3 separate regions of the Homo sapiens genome follow, and regions 1 and 2 are each linked to region 3. Evidence: promoter capture Hi-C in human tissues and cell types (Jung and others, 2019). All regions are on one chromosome and are shown on one strand. The core of a region is centred on a gene start or on the middle of the fragment in contact, and the rest is flanking DNA. Distances in the headings are between cores, read along the strand shown. Region 1 holds the start of HIPK3 (homeodomain interacting protein kinase 3). Region 2 overlaps EHF (ETS homologous factor). Region 3 holds the start of NAT10 (N-acetyltransferase 10).

Region 1 (2,700 bases), core at 133-2,632, 850 kb before region 3:
CAGGCGCCCGCCACCACGCCCAGCTAATTTTTGCATTTTTAGTAGAGACCAGGTTTCACTATGTTGGCCAGGCTGGTCTTGAACTCCTGACCACAGGTGATCCACCCGCCTCAGCCTCCCAAAGTGCTGGGATTACATGTGCGAGCCACCGCGCCCGGCCTCCTTTGTCTCTTAAAGGCATTATCCAAAATACTCATCTTCCGGTTTGAAGAGCAGCAGGGATTAAATGTGTATTATGTATGCAGCAATTTGCCACTCCCTTTGCCCTGCCCCAGTTACTGCAATAGAAAATTTCTGGGAATAAATACATCTCTGGTAAATTCAATCTTGCTAGTGAAGATTATGAAGGAAACAAAGAAAGGACACTTCCATTCCAGAAAGGTGTTTGTTTCCCAAAAGGTTAGACATTGATTCAGAACAAAGGGAACCTGAGGAAACGGGTATAAAAGAAAATCAACTCTGAATGTGAGGTATTAGAAAGCCATTTGTTTCCTAGGGAAAAGGAGGAAAGATGGGGTGGGAGACATGGGCTTTACTGTATAACCTTGGTCATGTCACCTAAACTTCTTGGAACTCCTGAGTGTAAGAGTTGGGACCAAGGATCGCAAAGCTTCTTTCATTCCTAAAATTCTATGGTTCCACGATTATGTAAGCTGAAACAGGCCATTCTGTTGATTTCCTAATCTCCAGGAGGAAAGAAACTAGTCTTTGGGAGTTAAACCGACTAATTTAACGGAGAATTACCAATGTGGAGGTGGGCGAACTTCACAATTATGGGGTTTTGGACAGTAGAGATGCTCTTAAAATTTCCAAGAGGACCCTTCCCCCGTCCTTGAACCTGGCTTTACAATTCTCTTCACTCTTTGGGATAGGGGAGCGGGTAGAACCTAGTTTAGATTGAGGTCGTTCATTTGAGCATTTCCCCTTTACTTATTTTGGGACCTTTAACGACCAAATGCCGAGAAACAGATCCTTAATTACGGTTCCGGGATCTCGAAAGGCCTGTAAAATCCTGCTTCCGCATCTTCATCCTTTCTTCGGGTATTGGGATCTTTTTTAAAAATGTGTATTTCTGGCGGAGGGGGCATGGAGTGAGGTTCAGAACAGCAGAGCCGGGCTGACGGATGCTTCTTTCGCGGGAGGCTTGGCTTGCGGGACTCCGGGTTGGGGCCGCACGGGCTGGCAGGCGGGCTCCGGGCAACAAGGGCGCGGCTGCGGACTGGCGGGCGGACCCCGGGGAGGGGCTTCACGGAGGCGCCGCGGCCGGAGCGGAGCGGAGCCGCCCGGGCTGGGCGCGCAGCGCTGCCGGGCGGGCGGTGGCGCTGCGGAGGCGGTGGCCGAGGCCGACGAGCGCGGAGGAGGGGCCCGAGGCTGGGGCGGCTGGTGGCAGCTGCCTCAGTGACGACTGCCGGCATCGCGGCGACCTGAGGAGATCAAGCCGCAGGCCCCGCCGTCGCCACCACTCCCGCCAGTCTTCCTTCTCCGCTCCCGGCCGGGGCGTCAGGAATGGGCCCCAATCGCCGTGGGCCCCGCACCCTGCGTCGCCCGTAGGCCCCAGTAGCCGGAGGCCGACCGGCCTCCCACTACCCCTCGCCCTAGCCAAGCCGTCCCCACCCCAAATCCCCGGGAAGGAAGATGAGGGAGACGGGCCCGGCGCTTAGCAGCCAGAGCAGCAGCAGCAGCAGCAGCGGTCGGGGGAGGGTGTTTCGCCGTTTCCTCTCAGCCGCCAGGACAAGATGGCAGCGGCCGCGGAGAGGGGCTGAGCCCGGGCTGGGTGGTGCCGCCTGCTGAAGCGCCTGGCTCCCGGTCCCCGGCACGGCCCTGCGCCCCACCCCGGACATGCTCAGGGCTGCGGCCGCCCGAAGAGGAGAGAGCGCGGGCCTCTAGGAAGGTAAGGGAGTCGAGCGAGGGGCGCCGCCACCCCGGGGTGGGGGGATCGGCTCCGTCTGCGGGCTCCGCGGCCAGCGGACCCCAAGCCTGACCCGGGCCTGGCCCGACACCTCCGGCGCAGCCCGCACTCATTGCGCGTCCCGTGCCCCATCCGCATCCCCAGCGCTCTCGTGCTCCCAGTTTCCGCCCTAGCCCCTGCAGTGTGGCCCGGTATGAGCCGCTCCCTCGAAGCCGGCGCCACGCCAGGCCCTGGGCCGCCGGACGCGGGGGCCGTAGCCTCCGGGAAGCCGCGCCTGGCCGGGGCCCGGGGGCCTCGGCCCCCCCTCCCCCTGCCAAGGTTGCGCAACGGCTCTTCCCAGCAACCGAAGTTTTGTTTAGTCCCACGGGGAGCCTCTCTTCCCCCTCCGCAGTCCTAGGCCGTAACTACGGAGATCCCTTTCCTTTCATTAAGGGGAACAAACAAACGCGCAGGCACGCAGCTTGAGCACCCCAGCCGATGGCCGCGTCCCGGGCTTTGTGGCCCCGTCCCCAGCGTCGCGGAGCAGCGGGTTTGCAGGGTGTCAACTCTGGGGACGTGCGTGCGTGTGTGTGATTGTTGGGGAGGAGAAATGTGATCCGCGGCTCCGCGTCCCCAGCGGCGGCGGGAGGAAGGCGTGGCGGCCGCGCGGCGGGGCTGTTGCCGGCTTCTCTCGTTACGGTGGCTGCCGCCCGCTTCCCTTCGCCGCACTGGGAGAACTGGCGGAAAGACTTTGGATGAAAATGTCTGTTTCTCTGTCGGGAGGGAGACGGCTGTTGTAAAATGGTATGTGG
Region 2 (2,700 bases), core at 169-2,668, 530 kb after region 3:
GGGCTGTTGCTCTTTCCTTGACTTGAACATCTTGGTCTTTTCCTAGGAGGAAACTTGACTCTTGAAATGGTCAAATCCATTGTCCTAGTTCATCCTGACCCCTCCCTGGCTCCAATCCCCACCCCTTACCGTCCTCCACCCTTCCTACATTCCTGCACAGTTGGTCTTATTTATCAGTCAACTAAGGGTGTTGTTAAATCTTTTATTTTTCTGCTGCCCGATTTGGTTCTAAGCACTCCACTCCCTACGCTGCTCATAACAAGAATGCCTGGGAACGCTCAGTCAGCCATATCCCTCCCCTGTCGGAACACCCAGTTCTTAATGCTCCTGGAGAGGCAACATTTCTGAGGCCCCACTGCCATAAGCCCCCCTCCCCCATGAAGCCAGTGGTCTGGTAGTAATGAACCCCCAACGGCCCGGAGAACACTGGGGCAAGGTGTTTGTCTGGGGAAATGTTGCATGTTGCCTTGACTGTGCTTTCTTCTACAAAGCTTAAAAAGAGATATTATATTATTTTATTTTTATTTTTATTTTTGAGATGGAGTCTTACTTGGTTGCCCAGGCTGGGTGTGCAGTGGCACAGTCATGGCTCACTGCAACCTCCACCTCCTGGGTTCAAGTGATTCTCCTGCCTCAGCCTCCCAAGTAGCTGGGACTACAGGCACATGCCACCATGCCTGGCTAATTTGTATATTTTTAGTAGAGACGGGGTTTCACCATATTAACTACATTGGTCTTGAACTCCTGACCTCAAGTGATATGCCCGCCTCGGACTCCCAAAGTGCTGGGATTAAAAGCATGAGCCACTGCGCCCGGCCAAAAAGAGATATTCAAAAGCTCCCTCTGACTGTGTGTGCTGAAGGCTGAGTGCTGATGCCATTGCTTAATTAATGTTGTTCATGATCTCCATTTGGGCGATTTGTTTAGCTCCTTGTGGCCCTTTTTGGACTTAGCTTATCATGTGACATTGACAAATTAATGAGAAGTGAGCATGTGATGATGCTTGGATTAGGACAGAAATCACATCTAGGACATCTCAGGCCCTTTCCACCTGGGACCTGAGGCCTCAAATCTCTTGGCAGGAGATGAGTGGGTCTACACAGCCCGATTTTGAGGTAGGTGTGGCTAGCCTCATTTATGCGATGGGAAAACTGTGGTCCGGGAACCAGGGGTTTTCAAATTATGCTTTTTGCCCAGGGCTGGATGTAGGATGTCTGGGGGAGAGGCTTGACTGAGATCTGGGTACACTGAGCCTCCACTTTAGGAGGTAACCTAGAGACTACACCTACTCCCTAAACTGTATTGACTTTTGGAAGTCAACCATTTAGAAGAGTGTGGTTTTGGTTTCGATCGTATCCCAGCAGTCTTTTCTCTGCCCTTGTTAATCTGATTCATGATCTGAACCTGGGCTGGCTGGAGGCTGGCCATGTCACTTTGCAGACCATGGACACCCCTGAGTGCCCTCACAGAACCAGCCAATGGAAAAGTACAACGTCTTCTGGCTTCTCAGCCTTGCCATCTCCCTCTGGCCTATTTGATACCCCCTTTTATATTGAGGGAGTGAAAATGTAGCATCCAAACTGAAAACGCAGGTTTTTCTTTGGTTTTTATAGGAAAAACAAATTGGCATGAACACTCAGTCAAACCAGCTCAGGCTGTTTGGGCAGATGCCTTTCTTTGCTTTTTTCTGTTTATTTTCCTACAAATCAATGCTTAACTGCGTTGTTATCGGAGCAGAGCAACAGGTGCAAAAAAATAACTCTGCTGCCAACTCAAATGAAAAGGTAGGGCTTATACCCTCTGGGAGGTATTCAGAAGATAACAGAAGCCCCTGCCAGCAACTGAATTAACAGCTCTGTTTACGGTGGGTTTTATGTTAACAACCTGCTCCTGACCCTCCTACACATAAACACACCATTGTCTCAGAGAGAGACATTCAGCCATCCAGACAACCCACTGCTTTATTCTGCCCTGAGTGGAGATTGGTTTTGGCTCAGGCTGCTTTGTGAAACTCAGAAGCATTATCCTCTCTGCCAACTCCACGTCCTAGTCAGAGTTTTCTGTGAAGGCAAGGGCATGGGGTTGCCGGAGAGAAGAGGATTGGTCCTGCTTTTAAGCCTAGCTGAAATTCTTTTCAAGGTTGGTCATTCTCAAATGCCAGAGAGGGTTGCCCGGCTCTCTCTGCTCTTGCCCCATTCCATTCACAACAGGAGGTGGGGAATGAGCTCAGATGACTTTGGAAGGAGCCACTATTATTTTGGAAGCCGTGTCCTTGTGAATAGTCCATCAGGGTAGGGCAGCGTCTATGTTTTGTTAACTATTGTATCGCCAGCACCTAGCAAAGTGCCCAGCATCTAGTAGACACTTGGTAAATATGTATGAATTACAGAGGGTCTGAGACAATATTGTAATGGCCGGATAAGCATTTCTTGGTAATAGTTTCTTTCTGCTGAAAGCTGAGAGACTAATTGTCTTCTGTATGAGGGCTTAAGTCCAGGGTAATTAAGTAATCTTTTGAAGGACTGAGATGGAGGTGGGATGGGGTTAGGGTGGCTTGGCCAGCCTTGAGATGCTCCTGATGCAAGTAACCATCAGAGAGATCCTCTGCAAGCGCTATATTCTGGGGCCAGATTTGTCTGTTCGGACTTCAGAACTCATACTTTTGAGTATCCAATTATTGTTGAATTTGACCATTTGGTA
Region 3 (2,700 bases), core at 68-2,567:
ATCCAGAGTTATCTTATACTTCTAACTACTACCACAACTACCATCCTAGCACAGGTGACTACAATAGCTTATAATTGTTCTCCTTTTTCTACTTTTGCCTTCCTGTGATTTAGTTTTTGCATAACAGGAAGCCTTTTAAGAGGGCAAAGCAGATTTTCTCATTTCCCTGTCCCCCACAAACTCCAGTGGTTTCTCATCATGACTAGAATTAAATTCTAAATCTGGTCCTTCACTTGCCCACTGCTTTGGCCACACTGACTGCTTTGCCAGGACTCCCCCATCTTGGAGCTTTTGTATGTACATCTTTGGCACGGGGAAGTTTTTCACTCATATTCTCAGGGCTCATTCTTTCTAAATTTCAGGTCCTTGTTCCATCCAGTGTCACCCCGTCAGAGGCCTTCAGTGTTCGTTTCTAAAATAGTATCCTTAGTCACTTTACTCACTGGATACTTCTGCTTAATAGCATTTAAAACTTAACCTAGAATTAACCACGAGGGGCAGGAACATTTTGGACACTATCCCTTGTGAGCAGAATAGTGCGTGGGCATATTCACATTTTGCTGAATGAACTAAAAAATTTCATGATGGATGTTGGATTAAATGGGTAGTGCTGCTGATGACATTAAAAGTGTATCTGGGGAAGGGGTTTGGATTCAGACATTTGCGGTATCCAGGAGGAAACATCAAGCAGTTGATAATGTTTTTTGAAGTTCAGCGATCTGCCCCAAAGTCAAGAATGCAACACTATGTATAGGTTGTCCCTGTAGTCATGTTCTTGGAGTTCACTGGAAGCCCAGGGGGAGTAATTTCATTTGACGACCATATACAGGCCTAATGGGAGCCTGCAAAGTACAGCGGCCGCAGTCATGGGTAGATTACAGGATTCCCATCTGTAAGATCAGTACTGTGGGGGTGGAGGGCCAAGCGAAACCAATAAAATAGGTCTGTTGGCCGAGTTTCCTCAACTTAACGGGGATCGGTTAAATTGAACACAAATCGTTGGATCCGTCGCGTTTCGCGTAACCAGGCTGACGCTGAAAACCCTGGACCTACGTGGGCAGGCCCTGGGGTGCGGACATCTATTTTGCCCTTCTTAGCCGAGGTACTTTAGCTGGGATATGAAGAGTGAAGAGGCAAACCGCAGCCAACACCCAGCTACCGCGAGCAGTGGGACTAAAATGCGCAACCGCAGTGGACATCTAGGCCTCAGCTCCGCTTCTGGTGGCTTACGTCATTACTCAGCGACAGCCTTGAGGAAGGTCCCTTCTCGCTCGCCATCTCTGCGACTTTAATGCGCTTGCGCACGTGCTGTCTACCAGTTCCTGAGAGGGACGCGTGCCGCGGAGCCAGGCTTACTACGTGACCCGGACACCAGGCATACGCTAGGGGCAGTCAGCTGTGCCTTCTCTTTCGGAGTTGTTCCGTGCTCCCACGTGCTTCCCCTTCTCCACTGGCTGGGATCCCCCGGGCTCGGGGCGCAGGTACCCAACGCGGGAGGGCCGGGTATGGATGCCAAGATCGGTGTCTGTGTTCTTCCTGGGTCGAGAGGGGACCGGCCTCAGGATGAAGGCTCTGCATCCGGACGGATACCTGGCCTACGCCGTTTGTCCTCCACCCCTCTTTTGGGGCGCTCCAAGATAACAGAATCACCTCTCCAATACGCAGCCGCTCTCGGCGCGTGCTTCTCGAGCGTCCTCGGGGATTTGCGTGGCTCGATAACCACCTCTAAGTAGTGCCTGTAACTGGGGAGTCGGGGTGAATGGGTGGGTGACAACAGTTGTTTTCCGTGGAGCTTGCCCGCAGTGCCTGGCTGCAGGTCTGGGCATTATACTTAGGGTAATCTGATTCCAGATCCTTCCACGTTCTTAAATCCTTCACTGTGCACATTCCTTTATACTCTTTATTCAGCAGTCACATTCAGGACTTGGTTTTGTTTGCCAGTGCACCTAAAATGGTGCCTGCCACATAGATGTTATGTGTAGATAGACGAATGAGTGAGCGAAAAATAATCATCTCCTTCAAGGCCTTCCCCATCCAGGCCTTCCATGACAGCTTCAGCCCATAGTAATCTCAGCCCTTCCTTCATCTGACCGGTCCCTCAGTATAGCTATTTTTTTTTTTTTTACATCTAATTTTACCTGTGTTCTTGTTCCTCATCTCATTCTCTTAAATACCTTCTTCAAGAAGAATGCAAGCTTGAAGTCAAGGGCCTTGTGGTACTACTTCTGGGGCTCCCACAGTAGCTAGAGCAAAAGGCAGCCCCCATTAATTAGTTGTTGATTGATTTTTGCGGGATCTTTATGTGGCCGGCAACACAAGGTTTACAAGTTGGGAAGATTGGCGAACTGGGAAGAGCTCAGGCTTTGGAGTCAGGAAGACTTGAGTGTGAATTCTGTCTGTCGTTTTTCTGCCTCGGGATATTTGAATTCTTTATACTTTCTCCTTTACGTATAAATTGGGGTCCTTGACAGTGACTTAGTGTTTTATAGTAAGACATATGCTAAAATCTGTTTGGATTGGAAGGTTAGAAGGGACAGTTAAGGTATGGTAAGTTTCAGTAAATGAGCTTTATGTTTATAATGCAGTAGGTACCAGAGTTTCTAAGTAGCATGTCACTTTTACATCTAAGTAGCATGTTACTTTTACAGTGATATTTCTGATGGTTTTTTTGATGTATTTATTGGGATGATGCAGTATTTT

What was found. The method cuts DNA at HindIII sites, captures the fragments that hold promoters and counts their contacts. A contact is called where the count stands out against the background at its distance.
Region 1: the fragment with the promoter of HIPK3 here is called in contact with the fragment with the promoter of NAT10 in region 3 in 1 of the 25 tissues and cell types used here (aorta).
Region 2: a fragment that was not itself captured here is called in contact with the fragment with the promoter of NAT10 in region 3 in 1 of the 25 tissues and cell types used here (aorta).

What each region holds. Positions count from the first base shown.
Region 1 is chr11:33,255,999-33,258,698 of GRCh38, forward strand. HIPK3 (homeodomain interacting protein kinase 3) reads left to right here and starts at 1,383. Exons shown (of 17, transcript NM_005734.5): 1 at 1,383-1,891. RefSeq lists silencers at 1,138-1,467, 1,728-2,067, 2,138-2,337 and an enhancer at 2,678-2,700. The HindIII fragment of the contact is 7,361 bases long and covers 1-2,700 here.
Region 2 is chr11:34,630,514-34,633,213 of GRCh38, forward strand. The region is part of intron 1 of EHF (ETS homologous factor); the gene reads left to right. Among named protein-coding and RNA genes, the nearest start is that of EHF, 11 kb to the left of the region's middle. The HindIII fragment of the contact is 3,664 bases long and covers 1-2,700 here.
Region 3 is chr11:34,104,312-34,107,011 of GRCh38, forward strand. It overlaps NAT10 (N-acetyltransferase 10), which reads left to right and starts at 1,318. Exons shown (of 29, transcript NM_024662.3): 1 at 1,318-1,481. RefSeq lists an enhancer at 1,071-1,530. The HindIII fragment of the contact is 6,988 bases long and covers 1-2,700 here.